2 separate regions of the Homo sapiens genome follow, and region 1 is linked to region 2. Evidence: promoter capture Hi-C in human tissues and cell types (Jung and others, 2019). All regions are on one chromosome and are shown on one strand. The core of a region is centred on a gene start or on the middle of the fragment in contact, and the rest is flanking DNA. Distances in the headings are between cores, read along the strand shown.

Region 1 (6,280 bases), core at 452-2,951, 590 kb before region 2:
TAACATGAACATGTATTACTTTGCTGCTTGATAATCTGCCTTTACTACATTTAAAAAGAGTTTCACAAACTCATATAATATCTTTCTCTAGAGTTCAAAGTGAGCTTACTAGTCCTTACTGATACTATTCAATCACCACTCACCTCTTCCCTGTTTGATAGACAATACTGAATATGCAAATAAAAAGAAAGTTCCTACATTTCGGCTGTGGTTAGATTAAATTTTTAAAAATTACTACCCTGTAACACTTTAAGTTGCTGTAAGAACACAGCATTCTACATAGTTCACTCAATAAATATCATAGTCATAAACAACTCCAACTTAGTTAATTCTCTGTCAGTTAACCTGGGTTCATATTAGTCAGTGTTTTCTAACAATCAGTTGGAAGAGGGGTATTATACAGATAAAAAACACGGTTATCTCAGTTTTGCCAACAACAACCACATGGAGTTTTGAATCTTGACAGGATAACACTTATATCAGAAAAACAGAATTAGGACCTAGAAATTAAATCCAATTATTGATATTTTATTTCAGAAAATGTATGTATATTTTATGCTACCTCCGTCTCCCCAGAAAAAAAGAGGGAGAGAGAAGAAAAGATAGGTTCAAAGAGTAAGTTTATAAAAGCAGGATTTAAATTAATCAGTTCCTAACAACTGTTAAGTACAACCTTTTAGAAATTAATTTGCATAATGATAATCTACATGTGATAGGGCTGAAATTATTTAAACGACATTATATTTCATTATTTAGTCTTGTTCCACCACTGCTTTAGCAGTGAATCCTTATGAAATGTAATGCAGCTAATGAGGTAGCTTTTTAACTGAACAAACTGACAGGCCCCATATCTGCAGAGGCAGCTTGAAACCGTGCCCAACCTCTTGGCTTCCCAAGAGGCTTTTCAAAATTCAATAAATAACATCTGTAGGCGATGTTGGGTGCAGACCTAGCAGAGTGCGTCATAACACTGTGCTGGCAGAACAAAGAAACCATGACGACTGCCAAGTTTCCATGGCAACTGCTGCGAGGCTCTGAGAGTATAATAGCACATCAATCACTGTCCAAAAGAACTTCATTATCAGCTAGAAAAAACCTTTAGGATCTGTTTAGTGTGCAATTGTGGGTTAACTCACCTCAAAGCCTTGCTCTCTAGCAAAAGTGGCAGCTTCCTGAAATAAAAAAAAAAAAGAACAGTTAATTATAAAGTGCTCGGTAATGAAGAAATAATCCATTTTTTGAAACTCATTCAGTCTTCTTCTTTACACAATTATCTCAATATACCCACATAGTTCAATTTTTATTCTTACAGCAATAAAGATTTCTTTTTTCCCTTGGAATAATAATAATAAAAAAAGGCAGCCTAATGTCAACACACTTCACAAGTTGGAATAAAGAAGATGTAGTACATGTTTTTACTGTAGCTGCCACAGTGAGTTCAGGTGTTCTGACCTCAGCAAAGAAAGACAATCCAAGGAATATGCTGGTGGTTGTGTTTTTAATTAAAACAATACCTCTCAAAAAGCTCTTATGTAGAGAAGAATGCCTGCTAATAAATGTATAAATTCAGAAAAATCATCTTTTTGCAATCCTCATAACGAAATTTATGCAGGCAAGGATCCTCAGTAGATGTTAAACTCATTGGGTAAAAAGGATGATAGGGAACTGGGTATTTCCATGGAATCAAAGTATCTCAGATTATATGCTGGTCACGGGAGCAAAGCATAACTTTATAATGGAAGGATCAAGCTGTCATCACTTTAACCCAGTGATCGATGCTATCACTTATCATCACTAATAGTGGGATCACCAAATATTCTTTGCCTTCTGTTGTGATGCAGTGTGAAGTTCACACCATCACCTATAAAGTATTCTAACCTAAATACTTTAATATGAATTAATCAAAACTTTAGTCCAGTAACTTGCAGTCTATAAGAAATACAGAGGATAGGGGAACAAGTTAAAGTATACACAGAGAAAGCAACTGAAAACATTCATAGGGTAGGACATTCTGTAGGACAACTAGCTTAATGTTTTTAACAAGTCAATGTAATGTAAAGTAGAAAAGGGAAAATGACCAAGAACAATGTATAAACCTTAATTGGTTTATACAAACCAGCTATAAAAGACATTTTTGGGACAAGGGGAGAAATTTGAATCTGAAATGAAAATTAGGTAATATTAGGAATTATCAGTTTGATTTTAAAAGTCCTTAATTCTTAAGATGAATCCTGAGGTATTTAGAAATGAAATGTCATGATATATGTAATTTATTTTAGAATACTGCAGAAAAAAATTAAAATGAAGCAAAAGTGGCAAAATGTTAACAAGTGTTAAATCTAGATGTATGTGCTATGTAGGGGTCCAATGTCTCCTTTTTTGTTTGAAATTTTTTATAATAAACAGTCCAAAAATCCTCTTTAATATAAGATGACAGGGTAAAAACAGTTGAGCATTAAAAATATGTATGGTTAAAAAATTTTAATATGCAAAGTTCTTCTAGATTTTAAATATCTTAAGGACACAATCTAATGATTATTATATACCCTAAGGCTCTTATAACAGGTTACTAAATGACAAAAATACATATGTGTAATCAAATCCTTTCCCTTTCTTCACTCTTTGTGCTTATACTTTAATTTTAGGACAGATAGAAAAGGGAGGCAATATTACTTTTCAACTCTACTTCCCTCTTGAAAATGAAAAAAAAAAAAAACTGCAGACAACTGTCAAGAGTCTCTACATCTTAACTCACATTCTTCCAAAATTATCTTTGCCAAGAGATATTAATAGAAGGATGGGATTTGAGCCTGAGTAGTGAGCAGATCCAACTCAACTAAAACGACTGTAGCATCAAGCCATGTAAGGCAGAAAGTACAGTCAGTGTCTTCAGCAGAAATTTGGGAAAACATTGGGAAAAAAATACATGTATGCACCTATGGTCCAATGTACTAATAACATATAGGTTAGAGAACCATTTTGAGGATTTAGAAAGGTCAAAATGTATGATTACAGCTAAACACTGAAGTCAACAGGAAGTGTTAAGTTGAAAGTACAACTCCTTACGCTATTTACTAGAGAAACATAAGCCTGACCAAGTTACCCTTAGTTCATGTAGACAAAAATAAGCAAATAAATATTGATCTTGACAACTGGTCAATTTGTGCAAGCAAGGTTAGAACTTTGTACATCACATAGTCAGTAACATTTGCTGGCGGTGATATCAAGGAATAGGAAAAGGTTCAAAAGCTATTGATGTAGTGCTTCCCAAGCTGTCACTCTGAACCAAGCAAATTCTTATATGAAAAAGACAACAAAAAAGCTATACTAGAACCACTTATTTATATGGAACTTCATCAGAGACATGAGAGAACCCCAGGGGACTGTAAGACAAAGTTCAAAGGAAGAATGTGTAGGACTAAAATTGCACTAAGCCATAAATGCTCAAAATTCACATACAGTAAAATTTTTTTAATGTCCAGTTTTGCTCAAATATAAGAAATTAACTGTAAAAAATTTATGTGTGTGTATATGTATATATATGTGTATATAAATATGTGTGTGTGTATATATATACATATATATTTTTTTTTTTTTTTGAGACAGAGCTTTGCTCTTGTAGCCCTGGCTGGAGTGCAGTGGTGCGATCTCAGCTCATTGCAACCTCCGCCTCCTGGGTTAAAGGTATTCTCCTGCCTCAGCCTCCCGAGTAGCTGGAACTACAGGTGTGTGCCACCATGCCCAGCTAATTTTGTATTTTTAGCAGAGATGGGGGTTTCACCATATTGATCAGGCTGGTCTCGAACTCCTGACCTCAGGTGATCCACCTGCCTTGGCCTTCCAAAGTTCTGGGATTACAGGTATGAGTTACTATGCCCAGCCCAAAAAAATTATTTTTAAAAATTAACTGTGATCTGTTATGGTATGGAGCTGACTAACTGCAAGAAGACACATATATAAATGTCAAATCATTATCTTTTAAGGAAACCAGGCCCTAGGACACTTCCATGTCTGTAAACTATTTCAAGCATCAACATATTTCTGACTGAGGAAAGATGTACTTAAAAAAAGTCAACTCAATTTTTTGTCTTAGTGCCCCCTCACACAGGTTTGCTGAGCTGTGCCCTATCACTAGAAAAGCTAAGCTTGTTGTTCTGTGGCTTAAAATGATCTTATCTTCTGACTTCCTCCCACCTTCCTCTGATCTTGGACTGGTGCCCCAAGTCACTCCATTAGAGAAGGCAGCTGGCTCATATCACTGCAGACTTTCCCACAGCTAACCTCTGATCTGAAGGTGTTTGTAGGTACAATGATGGAACAACATTTATTTTTCCCTGTCAGCAAAACAAACAAAACAACACGGGGGAACAGTTTGACCCAGTAAGAATTGTAAGCAGAATTTTAGTTGTCAGATTCATGACATGCAGAGGCAGAAAGAAAAGACATTAGGTCAGAAAGTAAGGAAGAAAGAATAGGCATAGTTGGTGGGCAGAAGAGCAAGACAGGTTCCAAATATCAGAGATAATTCCAAGTGAACTGATCGCACTAAATTGAAAAGGACTTTTTAGTGTGCCTTTGCAGTAAAAGTGAGAAAAGAAAACAAGCAAGTCCCCATCTGTGCTGCCCCAGGGCGCCTCGTACTGAGTTTCACAAATCTAATGAAGCAGTCAGGTTAAAATCCAACCACAGAGTGGATGTGACATGTGGAGAACAGCTCGGGTTAGAATAGAAAAGCAGGGCGGTTCCTAATGCAGGTGATTATCCGTGTGATAATCATTATATTTACAGGCTTTCCATTTTAGATCTGACATCAAAAATCACAAAGGAGGAGGGATTAAGGAAATAAACAACCGACACAGAGGCTTTCCTGCTCCCCTGAGAGTACAGCACTTTCATTCATGCATGACAAGCAACAAAAGCAAAACTAAACAGGCCAGGAAAGAGTATTTCTGAGAAGGCTGGATTTCACATTAACGCTTTTTTTCCATTTTGATAACTTTCACTATTACTCAGTTTCTCAGTCAGGTCACATTTTCAGAATCAGTTCTCATTGTTGTCTATGCTATAATACAGTATCATTTTTGGTTTACAATGAATGATACTCACATAATATGTCCTTTACAAAAACAGACCCATTTTTTCCTTCCTGGAATTGAGTGTTGTGAATAAAATGACATATAATTAAAGTCTTAGACTCTCATCTATACCACACCACTTAGGTTTTGCAGTAGGCTTGCTGCTTCAGCAACCAGGGTAAAACAACAACCAAATATAGTTTTTGAATGGAGGTTAGGGAAAAACTATGTTAATCAGATTAATGAAAACTATGGAATACTTACATTAAGAGCTATTTAAAGGGATCAGCAAGCCACTATTAAAAAGCACAATCCTCAGATTATGCAGGAAAGGAAAGAAACTCAAGTGCATGTTTGCGTATATGAAAGACAACTATGGAGGAGAAAACTTTCTCTATATTTCATCTGATAACACAAGTTCTTACTTATAAAGTAGAATTATCTATAATCAATATTAAACTAAAACCATAACTTGCCCATACTCACTGCAATTCCAATTATTTGTTACTAGTTATATAGAAACACAATGATTTCTGTATACTGACAAGCCAAGGGGGAATGGAGCCACCAGACCAGGTCTGTTTTCTTACTTTGCTTCTTCATCTCTCCATGCAACAAACATTTACCTCCTAAGTGTAGTTTTAGGCTGCTAGCATCTGTGTACATGTGTGTCATTGCTACAGCTGTTACAGGCCTTATAATGATATTAGACTTTGACTCAATAATACTATAACTCCTAAACGGAGTGGTATAGGTTAGAGATTAAGACAGGGGGGTGTCTGTCTTTCTCTACATATATGTATAAAAATCTCTGTATAATAAAAATTCATATAATTGTATATAAATTTAGAGGTATAATATTCTCCTTGAATGGCTTTAAGTGCAACATAGTACTGGTAGGAAGCAATTATAGCCAATGGAAAGAGTACAGGGTCTAGAATCAAAAGGCCTACACTAAGGTCCCAGTTTTACAAATTATTTGCTATGTAATCTTGAGCCAGTCACTCAGTACATCAATTTCTTCATCAATAACATTGGGGTTAACCATACCTATTTCGTTGCATTGTTGCTAGGAATAAATGAAATACTTTATGTGAAACTGAAATCATTTTGCCTATTGAATTCAAGTTCTTGTTAAGATCTCAGGATAAACAAATGAGTGTCAGAGCACCTAGAGTACTTTAATGATCTGTCCCATCTGTGGA
Region 2 (6,346 bases), core at 2,803-5,302:
GGCAATAAGAGCGTAACTCCATCTCAGAAAAAAAAGACTTCCAATTCAGTATCATACTGATTGTGACAGGCATCACACTTATTGCTTTGACATTGGAAGGGGTCTCAATAAACACCTGCTTGATAAGTGAATGACTATTACAACAATTGAAAATTTCATCTTCATCTAGTAAATTTTAATTATGGAAATATCCAAAAGTCATTTAGGCTCAAGAACAGTAAATGAAGTAGTTGAGCTCAAGAATGCCTACTTCAGTCAAAATGTACACTTTCTTGACCAAAATAAGACTAATTTGGCATACGTATGTAAATAATCTGAAAGAAATTCCCAAAGAAAAGCACTAGAATAAGGATATAACCTCCCAAAGTAACTCCCAAGAAATACTCACCCAGATTACATAAATTCCAGAAGATTTGTTCTAAAATCAGTTTCATTATTTTACCGTAATACTATGTTTCTTTTCTAGCAAATTCAGAGTTCAATTATCCAGTTCTATTATTTCTTCTTCTAATATATTTCTGATTAATTCCTTCTCCATTTTCCCTGCCACTCGCAAGTCCAGGCCTTCATTTTCTTCATAACCAACCAATTTTAAAAGCTTCCCAATTTGTCTCCCTTCCCATAGTTCCTTCAACAATATTTATTGAGTGATCCTATGTGCCAATTTTGAGGGCAGGAACTGAGGACCATATAAAGAAATATCAGACCAGGCACAGTAGCTCACAACTGTAATCCAGCACTTTGAGAGGCCAAGGCGGGAGGATTGCTTGAGCCCAGGGATTCGAGACCAGCCTGGGCAACATAACAAGACCCTGTCTCTATTTAAAACCAAAATAAAATTTTTTAAAAAGAGAGGAATATCAGACAAGGCTTGACCTCCAGGAACAATCTTGAAGCATGTACAGAATCCACATATTTAACGGTCACAGTTGGCACCAAGAATGTGAAGCAATGGGTAGGTCCTCTGGCCTCCCCAAAACACACTATACTATTCTCACACGCCATTCTCACGCAGTCTTTCTCACACACTATTCTCATCCTCCTTCCCCTCCTGCTCTCTTTGTTCATCCTTTTGGATAAGGCCTATGTTACACTGCCCATATGTCACGCACTAACTTCATCTCCAATTTCTCTCCAACTTGTCTCCTGAGCTGCAATCAAGATAATCTACTTGCTGTAACCTGGAAGTGACTTACTCACAAGTACCTTTGTTCATGATTAACTATTTATCAGCACAATCCTCCCTACTTTGTCTCTGCTAACCCATAGCTACCACCAATCTCAAGTCCCCTCTTTTGTATGTGTTGGAAAGTATATAACTTAACTACATATCATTGTTTTCATCTTATAACCTTATTTCTTTTGTATTTGTCTCACAGTGTGTATTACAGTGTTTCCTAACTAAGGCCGTATATCACAATCACCTATGGAGCTTCCTAAAAAATACGAAGGCCTGGCCGGGCACAGTGGCACATGCCTGTAATCTCAGCACTTTGGGAGGCCGAGGCGGGCAAATCACAAGGTCAAGAGATGGAGATCATCCTGGCCAACATGGTGAAACCCCGCCTCTACTAAAAATACAAAAATTAGCTGGCCACGGTGGTGCGAACCTGTAGTCCCAGCTACTCGGGAGGCTAAGGCAGGAGAATCACTTGAACCTGGGAGGAGGACGTTGCAGTGGGCCCAGATCGTGTCACTGCACTCCAGCCTCGTGACAGAGGAAGACTCCATCTCAAAAACAAACAAACAAACAAACAAACAAAGGCCTTCAGCTACTTGGGAGGCTGAGGTGGGAGGATTTTTCTCAGTCCAGGAGATGGAGGCTGCAGTGAGCTATGATCACGCCATTGCACTCCAGCGCCTGCGTGACAGAGCGAGACCCTGTCTCAAAAAAAAAAAAAAAAAAAAGCAAAATACAAAGGCCTTGACCCGTGGGAGCTGGACATCTTAATTTCTAAAAAGCCTCACTGATGATTTTCATGAACACTCTTAAGCTGAGAAGCACTGATTTATTGCAGTGTTTTCCATATAGCAGACATTCAATGCTTATTAATTCATGGCATGGAAGCCCATAAATAACTTTTCTCTAAATAGCCTAACCAGATATCAACCCCTAGACTACACTAGCTCTGTTCCAAGTGCAACATGTGGTTTTAAGATTTCATTTCCTGAAGTACTACATGGAGAGACACTATTACCTTGTCTCTTTACATTGTTTCCTATTTGTTGAAAAATGGAGGCCTGGAATGCAGCCATGTTAGACAACACTACATAAGAATGTACTCTGGAGTGTTCTGTTCAAATTAGTTATAAAAAGAAGAACAATGTACAAGTAGACATTGTGAATGAATACAGCATTCTTACTGAATGAATAGATTCTTACTAAAGCTATAGAGAAGAAAGATCAGGAATTTGGTCGGTGGTGTCACCCTGTCTTCCTAGCTACCAGTCTCCTAAATTGCTTGAGACAGTCCAGGGACCCCTGAAGACTGAGGAAGACTTTCAGCTGCTAAAGAGCCTCTAAGTGCACTAAAGTGCTCAAATCAGAAAAGTAACCCAAGCCCCACCCAGACAGACCCACAGTTGCCGCCCAACTGCCCTGACACACACTATTTACACAGCTCAGTGGGGGAGCAGTATGAACTTTTTCCAAAATTGTTCCTCACAAGCAGGACCAGTCTGAGTCACCCACCCAGGGTGGGAAAGAAAAGTGTGACATTAGCCAGGGGAGTCTTGGGAGACTGGTCTCAGCACCTCTTTTTTCCCATTTCAGACGTGGGCTCCACCTCCTCCAGGAATCACCTCGGTTATGAGTCACAGCTGTGGGTTACAGGGGTCTGCAGAGCCACCAGGAAAGTTGTGGATGGGGAGCGGATGCCCCAGCCTTCTCTCCGGCAGGGGCGGCAGATCCCAGATTCCACAGGCCTCTCCCAACAGCTCCATCTTGCTTCCTGCCAGGAGGAGGGGCCAAGGAGGGCCCCCGAGTCTAGAAAGGCCCCAGTGGGAGGAGGCCGTTTGACAGCAGGTAACGCCAGGTGAAAATGTCCACAGGAGGGAATGAAAGGAAGGGCAGCAGGGCTGAGCGGAAGGAAAAACCGGGCTTGTGGTCACGAATGACTGCATAAAGGTGTGAGAGTGCCAGAGGAGTGAGCATAAGTAAAATGCCCAGGAGGGAGGAGGAGGCGACAGAGAGTGAGGCAAGTGAATAAAAGGGCGGAATACAGGGAGCTCTGGGGAGCGGGGGTGGGCGAGGCGGGTCTCAGGGTGAGGGGCAGAAGTATTAGAAAGGAGGACAACGTGGCTCAAATAAGGATCCCTAGAAGAGAAGGCAAGGGATCCGTGGGAAGGCCCGCTCTCCCTCCCCCGCACAGCCAGATCGAGGAGGCCTAAAAGGCGCTGAGAGCGAGGAAGTCAACGTGGGGGCGAAGCCTGCGCGGGGCAGGGACCCTCGGACATCCCAGCAACTCTCATTTATTGGGTGTCTGCTGTGGGCCACACGCCGCGCGAGGCACTCCACGAATAATACCTCGCCATATCTTCACGACAAGCCCGCAAGGCAGCCTTTTTCATGACTGCTCCCATTTTATAGATGAGGACACTGAGGCCCGGAGAGGCTCAGGACTCGCTCAAGGTCACAGGGCGGAGAAGAGGCCATTCGAACCCTCGGCGCCTGGCTCCGGAACCCACGCGGAAAGCCACGGCCAGCGAGCCGGCCACAGGCAGCCGCGACGCGGGCCGGGGCCCCGGGGATACCTCCCGCGCCCGCTCCCGCGCCAGGCCCTGCGCGCTCACCCGGACGAGGTTGCTGACGGCCGCCTGCACGGCGGCCACGGGCGCGGTGAGGTCAGGAATGGCTTTGCCGTCCACCTCGCCCTCCTCGTGCATTATCACCAGGTGGGAGATCTGCTGTGCCACCGGCTCCAGGATGCTCTCGATCGTGCGCGTATGAAACACTGGCATCGCGGCGGCGAGCGGGGCGGCGAACCGCGGGCGACAGAGAAGTAGGATCCACGGGGCCGGGAACCGGCGAAGAGACAGACTGTGCAGCGACTACGGAGTCGGGGCTTCCCTCGGCGTAACCAGCCTCACGGGCTCCCCGCCCCCTCTCGTCGCCGCGCCCAATGGCAGCGCAGCTCAGACCTGGGCCGCCACTCCTACTGGTCCCTTTTCGAGATGCTCCGCCCCAGCCACCGCGCCGCCAAACCCCGCCCCTCCCCCATTCCTAAGGGAGGGGCCTGGGATTGGGGCTGAGCCGCCGGGATTGCTACCGGATTCCCGAGCCCTAACGCCGGGCGCTCCTTATAAGGGCATGGTGGGAGCGGAGCGGGCCGCTGGAGCCGGCTGGTCCCGCCCCCGGGCCGCCTCCCGCCTCGGATCTGGGGGGCTCCGCCCCTCTGCAGAATCACCTCAGCGGGGCGGGGTCTCCTCACCTCAAGCGGCGCTAGAGTTTGATGAGACCAAGGGGTCTCCCACGTCCCCTCCTCAACTTTTCCCTTCACACGAAACCCTCAAAATACTCCTTCCATTCCCTCCCAGCAATGCATGGGAAGGTTTTTAGTAAAAGATTCAAACAGCAGAGGTGCACTGAGAAACAGCAGCGTCCCATTCACGTAAACGCAGACTCCGCCCCCTGCCCTCCTCAAAGACATTCTGTTTAACAGCTGGGTGTGTAGCCTTCTAGACTTGTCTATAGATTCACTTCTACATATATATTTTCTAACTAAATGAGATTAATAAACATTTTCCTGGAACTAGGTATGATTGCCCTTGATTAAAATGCCCTTATCTTTCACTGCTGGTAGAGGTCTACCTCATTCTTCTTAATGACTGCATGATATTCCATTGCATGAAATAAAACTATTTACAGAACCAATTTCCTACTCATGGACTTGGGTTGGGTCCTGGTTTTCACTATTAAAAAACAATTCTGCATGAATTGTACTTACCCCTGTGCTGTGCATCTGTGTATTTATCTAGCGCAAATGCCTACCAGGAAAGAGAAAAACGCAAAAGTATATGCATTTTATATTTTGATAGGTAAGACCAAATTATCCAGTTCCCTCACGCTTTGTATAAGACATCTTCCAGGCCGGGCGCGATGGCTCACGCCTGTAATCCCAGCACTTTGGGAGGCTGAGGCGGGCGGATCACGAGGTCAGGAGATCTAGGCCATCCTGTCTAACACGGTGAAACCCCGTATCTACTAAAAATACAAAAAAAATAGCCAGGCGTGGTGGCGGGCGCCTGTAGTCCCAGTTACTCATGAGGCTGAGGCAGGACAATGGCGTGAACCCGGGAGGCGGAGCTTGCAGTGAGCGGAGATCGCGCCACTACACTCCATCCTGGGCGACAGAGCAAGACTCTGTCTCAAAAAAAAAAAAAAAAAAAAAAAGACATCTTCCAAACGTCTTACTTACTTCAAATTCGCTTTTGCCCAAGCTTTCCCATTCTGAGGTAAACACTTTCAGTAATGCCTCCAAGCAAAAGATTCTCACATCAAATGAAAATTTTTGTCTAGTCCTACCACAACCACCACAGCTGTTTTCTCTGCCCATTACTTTGTGTTAATAGTATAAATATTTGGGTGATGGGGCCAGGCACGGTGGCTCACGCCTGTAATCCCAGCATTTTGGGAGGCTGAGGCAGGCAGATCACCTGAGGTCAGGGGTTCAAGACCAGCCTGGCCAACCTGGTGAAACCCCGTCTCAACTAAAAATACAAAAATTAGCCAGGTGTGGTGGCAGGTGCCTGTAATCCCAGCTAATCGGGAGGCTGAGACAGGAGACTTGCTTGAACCTGGGAGGTGGAGGTTGCAGTGAGCTGATACCGTGCCATTGCACTCTAGCCTGAGCAACAGAGTGAGACTCCCTGTCCAAAAAAAAAAAAGTTGAGTGATGGAACGATATGATTTTTTTATTTTAAAAATTATTTTATTTTATTTATTTTTATTTATGTTTTTATTTTTTGAGATAGGGTCTCACTCCGATTGTCCAGGCTGGAGTGCAGTGGTGTGATTTCGGCTCACTGCAGCCTTGACCTCCCCAGGCTCAGGTGATTCTCCCACCTCAGCATCCCAAGTAGCTGGGACCACAGGTGCATGCCACCACGCCCGGCTAATTTTTGTATTTTTGATAGAGACAAGGTTTCGCCATGTTGTCCAGGCTGATCTCAAACTCCTGGACTCAAGAAATCCACCTGCCTTGGCCTCCCAAAGTATAAATGGCCTCCCAAAGTATATATAGCCTCCCAAAAAGTGTATGATTTTGTTAAATCCTCACCCTGTCCCCACTTTGCTGATTGTATATTTATGTGTAGTTTAACTTGTTCTTCTGAACTATATATTTCC

The links. The method cuts DNA at HindIII sites, captures the fragments that hold promoters and counts their contacts. A contact is called where the count stands out against the background at its distance.
Region 1: a contact is called between a fragment that was not itself captured here and the fragment with the promoter of VCL in region 2, in 1 of the 25 tissues and cell types used here (stomach).

The regions. Positions count from the first base shown.
Region 1 is chr10:74,584,174-74,590,453 of GRCh38, reverse strand. ADK (adenosine kinase) reads right to left here. Exons shown (of 11, transcript NM_006721.4): 8 at 1,137-1,172. It overlaps LOC124902457 (a long non-coding RNA gene), which reads right to left and starts at 1,130. Exons shown (of 2, transcript XR_007062199.1): 1 at 1-1,130. RefSeq lists an enhancer at 4,761-4,930. The HindIII fragment of the contact is 8,050 bases long and covers 1-5,726 here.
Region 2 is chr10:73,995,822-74,002,167 of GRCh38, reverse strand. VCL (vinculin) reads right to left here and starts at 4,052. Exons shown (of 22, transcript NM_014000.3): 1 at 3,793-4,052. The coding sequence starts at 3,960. RefSeq lists enhancers at 3,100-3,751, 3,824-4,023 and silencers at 3,704-3,753, 4,084-4,443. The HindIII fragment of the contact is 15,261 bases long and covers 1-6,346 here.